Linked DNA regions of Homo sapiens: region 2 is linked to region 1. Evidence: promoter capture Hi-C in human tissues and cell types (Jung and others, 2019). All regions are on one chromosome and are shown on one strand. Each heading gives the region's core, a stretch centred on a gene start or on the middle of the fragment in contact. The rest is flanking DNA. Distances are from core to core; before and after follow the strand shown.

The links. Contacts are between HindIII fragments. The study calls those that stand out against the background at their distance.
Region 2: a fragment that was not itself captured here is called in contact with the fragment with the promoter of SPATA32 in region 1 in 1 of the 25 tissues and cell types used here (dorsolateral prefrontal cortex).

The regions. Positions count from the first base shown.
Region 1 is chr17:45,260,159-45,264,585 of GRCh38, forward strand. It overlaps SPATA32 (spermatogenesis associated 32), which reads right to left and starts at 1,936. Exons shown (of 5, transcript NM_152343.3): 1 at 1,846-1,936. The coding sequence starts at 1,858. It overlaps MAP3K14 (mitogen-activated protein kinase kinase kinase 14), which reads right to left. Exons shown (of 16, transcript NM_003954.5): 16 at 2,961-4,427. The region is part of intron 2 of MAP3K14-AS1 (MAP3K14 antisense RNA 1); the gene reads left to right. RefSeq lists silencers at 1,580-1,699, 1,770-1,819 and enhancers at 1,768-2,373, 1,850-1,939, 2,374-2,977. The HindIII fragment of the contact is 11,872 bases long and covers 1-4,427 here.
Region 2 is chr17:45,733,731-45,738,157 of GRCh38, forward strand. The region is part of intron 3 of LINC02210-CRHR1 (LINC02210-CRHR1 readthrough); the gene reads left to right. It overlaps LOC107985028 (a long non-coding RNA gene), which reads right to left and starts at 949. Exons shown (of 2, transcript XR_001752915.2): 1 at 554-949. The HindIII fragment of the contact is 5,736 bases long and covers 1-4,427 here.

The DNA.
Region 1 (4,427 bases), core at 686-3,185:
CTCCTGAGCTCAAGCGATCTTCCCATCTTGGCCTCCCAGAGTGTTGGGATTACAGGCGTGAGCCACCATGCCTGGCCTAATTTCTTACCTCAAATTCATATCTTGTATGTCCAGACTCTTAAGTGTGGCTGCCACGGTTCTGCCTGTCTGACCCCTGTCTCCCTTTCTAGTCTGTCATCTCTCCATACCCCACTCTCCTCGCCCTATTCATCCTTCATCCTTTCACCCAAATGAGAAACCTGGGTCATTTGTGACTCCTCCTCCCTCCGCAGCTACTGCCCTCCTACCCCTGATGCTGTCCTCATCTCCCAGTACCAGAGCCAGCACACACCCATGACTTCCTACCCTTTGGCACTTGGTGCTGAGTGCTTTGCACATTCAGTCTTCATACCTACCCTATGCCCAGTTGGCCACGGCTCTCCTCTCACAGATGAGGAAACGTGTATGAGGTCATGCAGCTATTAAGAGCAGCACACGACCCAAAGGCAGGTCTGGCTGGCTCCAAACTCTGGGATGCTACTCACTGCACTGTCTTAAATCTCTTTAGTCTTCCAGTGGGACCACTGCAACTATGTCCCCCTCCAACCTGGATTTTCAATGACCTCAGAGTGAGCCTGCTACATCTCACTTGTCTCCGGTTACCCCCAGACTCCATGTGGCCTCTTGGTCTGATCTCTACCTTCATTTTTCATCTCTTGGCATCCAGCTTCCTGTCCCTCACCCTAAGCCGAAGCTACCCCCAGAGTACCGCAGGCCTTTCTGCACCCAGTGCCTTTGCAAATGCTATTTCTTATACCTGGAAAGCCTTCTTCTGGCAAAGTCCTACTCATGCCTGAAAGCCCAATTCAAATAATCAGTGTAATCCTCTCCATGACAGACCTGGCTGTCTAATCTACGTTTTACCTTACAGGCGTGAGCCACTGCACCCGACCTCTGGTTTTTTTTTTTTTTTTTTTGACAGGGTCTTGCTCTGTGGCCCAGGCTGGAGTGGCAGCATCATAGCTCACTGCAACTCCTGGGCTCCAGTGAGCCTCCCAGCTCAGCCTCCCAAGTAGCTGGGACTACAGGCTCATGCCGCCACACCTGTCTAATTTTAAACATTTCCTGTAGAGGACAAAGTCTCGCTATGTTGCCTAGGCTGATCTTGAACTCCTGGCCTCATGTGATCCTCCCACCTCTGCCTCCCGAAGTGTTGGGATTGCAGGCGTTGAGCCATCATGCCCACCTAATTTTTGACCGTTTTTAATGCTGGCCCATGCCCTTCTGGGAGAGAGGATCCCCAAAAGAAAGCCACCATTTCAGTGGGGGATCTGACGCCCCTATGGGAAGGGGAGACACAGGGCACTGGGGGCAAACATCTTTGCTCATTGGTTCAGAGAAGAGTACAAGGCATCAACGAAGCGCTCCGTAAAAATGTGCTGAAGACTGCCGCTCCTCCCTGCAAAGCCTCAAGCATCAAGGAGGGACAACTGGATGTGATTTTTTGGATCTGCAGTTCAGGATAATTCATGAGTCGTTTCCTGTGCACAAGGCCATTGCTCCTTCTGTGGTCTCAGAACCCCTTCAAGAACCACTGACTCTGCAGTCCCTACTCCAAGGCGCGCATGCGTGTCCGTGAGAGCACATGGGTGTGCACCGCGCAGGGGCTGAGGCTGGGAGCCGTAGTCAGGGGCACCGGGTGGGCTTTGGCGGCGGGTCGACCTGCCTTTCAGGTGCCGGGGGTTTGGGAGCAGGGGAACGGGCCCTGGGCGGATTCCTGACCGCCCCCTTCGCGCCCCTCCCCCTCTCACTTTCGCTTTCCCCGCCTGCCCCAACCCTCGCCCCCGGGCGCTCGGCCGCTCCCACCTGTCACCCCCATGCAGACCGAGGCTCTGTCCTGGAGGCGGGGAGCGGGCTGGTGGATGCTGCCTCTCCGCCTCCAGTGTGCTCTTTGGCTGAGGGACTGGTGGGCGCTGGAAATATTAGAGGCGCCGGTGCCTGTGATGTCGCCGCCTCTGTGACGTCCCCGCCGCGACCCCACAGGCAGGGAGCCGCATTTAGGTTTCGGGCGGGCGGACGGGGGACGGCCCGAGTGAGGCGTCCTCCGAAGGCTGCGGGCCCGAAGCCAGAACTCCTTCCTCTCCGAAGACCTCGGGGGTGGGGCTCGCGCTTCCGCAGCGGGCCTAGAGCGAGAGGCAGGCGGCAGGTAAGCCTGGCTGTGCTGGACAGGACTTGCACCCGCTCTGCACGCCAGCGGCTCAGGGCTGCCGCCCTTTTCGTGGTCCCAGGGCCCTTCCAAGAACCGGCTAAACCAACCCAAGCCGCGCGCACACACACTTGTGCACACAGGGAGTGTGGAGCCAGATTCGATAAGGCACCCCGTGTGCCCCAGCTCCATGACCAAGGAACTCAGCACCCCGTGTGCCCCAGCTCCATGACCAAGGAACTCAGCACCCCGTGTGCCCCAGCTCCATGACCAAGGAACTCAGCCCACAAAGGCATCCCTGGCCCCATGCAGGGCTCAGGAGGCAGCGGAAAGGGTTAAGAGTCCAGGCCTCAAGGACAGGAGGGGAGGGTGGAGGGCCTGTGGTGTGCATCCGGCATCCCTGGATGGTCAGGGCCCAGAACCCATCCCTATTTCCCTTCTGGTGGTAGGGGGCTGCCTAACTTGGGCAGTGGCACAAAGCATGCAGGCTTTGTTGTCCTCCTCCTCCACCCCTCAGCCTGGCATATTTTGGCGAGGGACTTCCCTGATGCCACCGGGCAAGGTATCTTGCCTAACTGGTCTGAATGACTAGCCCAGCGTTGGGACTAGAAGCAGCCACTGGGAGGAGTGGTGGGAAAGCAGCCCCACTCAAGGGCTGAAACAGTCCTTGTCCAAAACAAGGGGGACTTGAAAAGATCTCAGCAAGAAGGCAAAGAGAGGCAGCTGTTAGGGTCGTGAGGTTCAGCAGGCCGGCAGGCAAGAGAGAGGACACCGATGGCCTGGAAACATTTGTCATCACCCCAAACTTTATTGCTTACAAAGAGTTCTCTACAACCCAGACTCTGCAGTACCAAGGCTGCAGTTCTTTATGTGCTGGGGGCCGGGGCTCTCTCCCCGGGAGCAGTCTGACTCAATGTGGACAGCTGGACAAAGGCTGTCTTGGCAAGATGTGGGAATGAGCTTCTCCCACGGAGTCTCGGCGTCCCCTGCCCCAGGAGGTTGAGGCTAGCAGACACCCCCTGACGATTCACAGCTGATTTAATGCTACGTGAGTCCTGAGTAGCTCCCCTGGGAGAAGAGGCTAAGCTGGGGCAATGGGGAAGGGGGTGCTATTCTTAGAGAAATCTGGAAGAGGTTTGAGGAGTCACATGCATGTGGACAGCTCAAGACTGTGTCCCTTCACCCCATCTCCTGGCTTGCTATGCTCCTACAGTGTCACTGCCCTGCCCTGCCCTGCCAGAGGGCAGCCATGAAAGTGCTTTGAGGTCATCAGAGTGCAAAGTGCCGTCGGCAGTACCCTCTGGCCAGGGGCAGGGCAGGGTGAGTGTCAGTGTGATGCTGAGCTGTGCTCTGGGGAACCAGCACGCTGGACACTGATAGTGGGGCTGGGGCGCCGGAGCGTCTCTCTCTGCTGCTTTCCTTAGCACTGATCATGTCCATCCACAGACTGTTCCTGTCAGGCATATCCTGCATCACCCTTCACCTTTACAGATGAGGGAACTGAGTGCCAGCGAGTCTGGGGCAGTGCTGGGCCTGAAGGGGCTCGGGGCCTGCTGCTCTGGGGAAGAGTGGTAGCCAGCAGCAAAGGGGCACATGTCTGGGGACTGAGAACCACTTCACTTACACACCTTCTTTGGTCCTTGGCTGAACCAGAGGTCAACTCAGGACCTGTGTTGCAACAACCTGAAAAGTGTGGTGTATTCTACCAGGGAGCCTTCCCAGGGTCAGGCATTCTTTTCCCCTACACCCAAAAGGGGTGAGCTGGCCAGGTGAGGCCAGGCAAGGGGTTTAGAGGGCCCCCTTAACCTACGGGCGGGCATACCTGCTGACCTGGTTCTGCACTGAACCTGAGTTTGGGCCCTTACACACTTGACACTCTCACAGCAGCCTGGAGGGTGAGGGGCCGAGGGGCTCGCCCACCCCTTCTGACCCAGGCTGGAAGCTGCTCTCCCCTGTCTGCCAGCAAATGGTCACTGATCCAAGCGGGTCAGGCCAACTCGACTGGAGCAGGGCAGAGAAGATCCTGTTTGTTTCCCGAGGTAACTCCTGCCATCCTCCTCTGTCTCTTCACGTGGCGGAGTGTTTTCTCAGCAGGGTGGGGCAGGGCTCAGGTGTGAAATCCTGGGAGGCATTCTGCTTGCCCCCACCTTGCTGCTGCGAGGCCCTGGTCCCACTGCTGAGCCGGGGGCTGGCAGATCCCTGGGAACGGCTGAGCCTGTGTTTCAGGGCAGCATCGTGCACC
Region 2 (4,427 bases), core at 1,274-3,773, 470 kb after region 1:
CATAAGGACCAAAGGCTGCTCATATATGCTAAGCACCTTTCATTCATTGTCTCACCAACAACCATAGGAGGCAGTTACTATTATTAACTCAGATAGAAATAGGGAAACTGAGGTTCAGGGAGGTTAAGTAATTTCCCAGGGTCTCATATTCAGCCTGGACACCGTCTCATATCTGGCTCTAAATAGTAGCCTCTAAGGCTCATTGGATTGGCACTTGCCTCCCAGGACCCCTGTGGTTATGAGATTCAGAGTCCTGAGATGTCTGAGCTGGTCAAAAGCTTTGGGTAATCTTTAAATAAGCAGCTGTGCCTTGCTAAGAGAATGGGAGGCTCCTGGAGAATAGGGTGGCCAACTAGAAAGAAACTAGCTTGGAAGTAAGAAATGACTGGGTCCCATACCAAGCCTGCCTCTTATTACCATGTTACCTCGAACAACTGACTTTACTTGTGTGAGCCTCAGTTTTCTCCTCTGAAAAATGGACTAATAACATTTACACTGGAGTGTGCTATCCAGTGCAGCTCAGGTGCTCCATAAGTGAAAAGATGGTTCCTACCTTATTGCTTCCTTGGGATCTTCCTCCCCAGCACGTAGGCTTTCAGAGCCTCAGTACCATCTCTGATGACTTTTTTGCCAGGGCTCATCAGATGGGGTAGAACTTTCTGATCAGGAACCCACAGCGCACACACACACACAAGCCTCCCCTCATCCTGCGTACAGAGCCAGCTTTGCTCGGGCTTCTGGGAAAGGGGAGTATGGGGATTACTTATTGACTCCAGTATCCAAACCACTGGCTGGACAAGAATGCAGCCAGCCTCAGGAATGACTTAAACCAGGGACTCTGGGGCCACCAGGCATCCCTCCTACTGCCTGGTTCTCTAGGTGTCAGCTCCCTGCTTAGTTAGATAGCTTCTCCCGTGCTGCTGGTCCAAGGCCTAATACTCTCAGTTTCATCACAGTAGACAAAACTCCAATTCCAGTTACAACCAACCAACCAACCAATAGGAGAAGACTCCAATTGGCTAGGCTTGAATTACCCATCACCTTCTCAACCAATTATTGAAACTCAGAGGTAGAAAGGTACTATGATTGGTCAGGGCTGGATCAGGTGATCACACCCAGGCCAATAATTGTTCCAAAATGGCCACTTTACATTTAGATCGCCTAACTAGAATGGGAATGCACAGTGCTTTGCAGAAAACAGTGGTGAAAGTTCATGACTGGCCCGGGCAACTGATATGGTTAGGCTTTGTGTCCCCACCCAAATCTCATCTTGAATTATAATCTCCATAATCCCCACATGTCGAGGGAGAGACCAGGTGGAGATAATTGAATCATGGGGGCAATTCCCCCATGCTGTTCTCGTGATAGTGAGTGAGCTCTCACAAGATCTGATGGTTTTATAAGGGCCTCTTCCCACTTCGCTTGGCACTTCTCCTTCCTGCTGCCTTGTGAAGAAGGTGCCTTGCTTCTCCTTCACCTTCCACCATGATTGTAAGTTTGCCAAGGCTTCCCCAGCTGTGCAGAACCGTGAGTCAATTAAACCTCTTTCCTTTATAAATTACCCAGTCTTGGGCAGTTCTTTATAGCAGTATGAAAACAGACTAATACAGCAACATAGTGAGATGTCATCTCTAACAAATTTAATTAATTTTTAAAGTGGTGAAACGTCCTAGGCAAATGAATAAATATCTTTTACCTTTCAAATCTCAATTCTCTTTCTTTCTAATCATTCCCATCCAATCCTGGAGCACTACACTACTGATATCTTCATTCTGCCATTTCCTGTCCCCTACCCTGGTGTTTAAATCTCTCCACTCTACCTATTGGGCACAGCTGGCCTGATGAATCAACCCAGCCTGCAGGCCTGATGGATTTTCAGAGTTCAAGGAAGTTCTTCCTTTTCCAGCCATCTTAAATGTCTTCCTACCTCTGCCTGCTGTATCAGCAATTTCACTATTGGTGGTTCATTTTTTAGCTTACTATGACTTGTTCCCATTAAAATGCACATCCCTTTGTGAGTATGCACTCACTGTCTGAACAATTATTTATGATTAGTATTAGTGCTTTATCAGCTTTTTTACATTTTGGTGGGGGAAAGGAGGAGAGACTACAGAGGGCTTACTCGTGTTGGAGGGAGGAAGAGAGGCTGTAGAACCTGGAAGCCAATTCTCCTGATTCAATGAGTCTGTTTCAGGTAAGTCCAGGTGATTGTCGGGAAGCCATGGCCATTCTTATTTTATCTTGGAGAAGCAGCAGCGTTTTATCTTTTTTCTGTCTTCAAAGTTTAAATTTTCTTACCTAAAATTTTAAATTTTGAGGTAATTGGGGAATCCTCTACTCAGTTTCCCATGATAGCAACTTGCAAAACTATAATATTACAACCAAGATATTGATGTTAACACAGTCAGGATACAGAACGTTTCTATCACCATGAGGATCTTCATGTTGCCCTTTTATAGCCATATCTACTTCCCTCCCATCCCTATCTTCTCCTTAACTGATGGCAACCACTGATCTGTTATCCATTTCCATAATGTTGTCATTTCCAGAATGTTATATAAATGGAATCATATGTAACTTTGGGGGATTGGCTTTTCTCACTCAGCATAATTCTCTGGAGATTCATCCAGGTTGTTTTGTGTATCAGTAGTTCTTTCTGACTGTATTAATCCATTCTCACACTGCTATAAAGCTACTACCCGAGACTGGGTAATTTATAAACAAATGAGGTTTAATTGACTCACAGTTCCACATGGCTGGGGAGGCCTCAGGAAACTTACAATCTTGGCAGAAGGGGGAGCAGGCACATATTACACGGCAGCAGGTGAGAGACAGTGAGCAAGTGCAGGGAAAACTGTCTTATAAAACCATTAGATCTCGTGAGAACTCACTATCATGAGAGAAGCATAGGGGAAACTGTCCCTGTGATCCAATCACCTCCTACCAGTTCTCTTCCTCAATACCTCGGGATTACAATTTAAGATGAAATTTGGATGGGGACACAAAGCCTAACAGTGTCACTGAGTATTAGATCATGGTAGGATATACCCCAGTTTATTTAATCATTTCTGTGTTGAAGGACAAGTGGATCATTTTCAGTCTGGGGCTAATACAAATAAATAAAGCATCTATAAACATTTATATACAAGTCTTCATTTCTCTGGGATAAATGCCCAGAAGTACAATTGCTGGGTTGTACAGTAGTTGTATGTTTAGTTTTTGAAAGAAACTGCCAAACTGTTTTCCACGGTGCCTGTACCATTTTACATTCCCACCAGCAATGTATGAGTGACTCAGTTTCTCTGAATCCTTGTCAGCATTTAGTATTATTACTGTTTTATGTTAGCCATCCTGATAGGTACATAGTGATTCTCATTGTGATTGTAACTTGCATTCCCTTAATGATGAACAATGAGCATCTTTTTATGTGCTATTTGCCATATGATGTCTTCTTTGGTGAAATATGTCTTTATGTCTCTTACCTATTTTCTAATTGGATTGTTCGTTTTCTGACTGCTGAGTTTTGAGTGTTCTTTATATATTCTACATACTAGTTCTTTGTTGGATATATGGTTTGCAAATATTTTTCCCAGTATGTAGCTTTTTTTCATCTTTTTAATGCTTTTTAATGGGCCTTTCACAAAACAGAAGCTTTTGTGATGAAGTCCAATTTATTAATTTTTCCTTTTATGGGTGATGCTTTGGGTGTTGAACCTAAGAACTCTTTGCATAGACCTACATCCTGAAGACTTCCTCCTGTTTTTTCAGAAGTTTTATAGTTTTATGTTCTACATTTAAGTTAATGATCCATTTTGAGTTAATTTTAGTATAAGGCGTACGTAAGACTTAGAGGCTTTTTTTTTTTTTAGCACCATTTGTTGAAAAGGCTATTTTCCTCCATTGAATTAGTTTTGTACGTTTGTCAAAAATTAGTTGGGCATATTTGTGTGGGTCTATTTCTGGTTTCTCCATTCTGTTCCATTGATGTATATCTCTCTGCCAATAACATACAGTCTTGTAAGTTATCTTGTATCTTGTATGCCAATAACATTCAGTCTTACTGTAGCTATACAGTGATTACTGTAGCTTGATATGAGATGGACTGATTCCTCCCAATTTATTCTTTTTTTTTTCCAAAATTGCTATTCCTATGGTTTGGATGTTTGTCTCATCTAAATCTCATGTTGAAATTTAATTCTCAATGTTGGAGGTGGGGCCTAATGGGTGTTTTGGTCATAGAGGTGGATCTCTCATGAATAGATTAATGGCCTTCTCTGGAGTGAGTGAGTTCTCATTCAATTAATTCCTGTGAGAGCTGGTTGTTAAAAGAGCCTAGCACACCCTCCTTTTCCTCCTCTCTCTCACAATGCCATCTCTGCACACTCTGGCTCCCTTTTGCCTTCTGCTATGAGCAGAAGTAGCCTGAG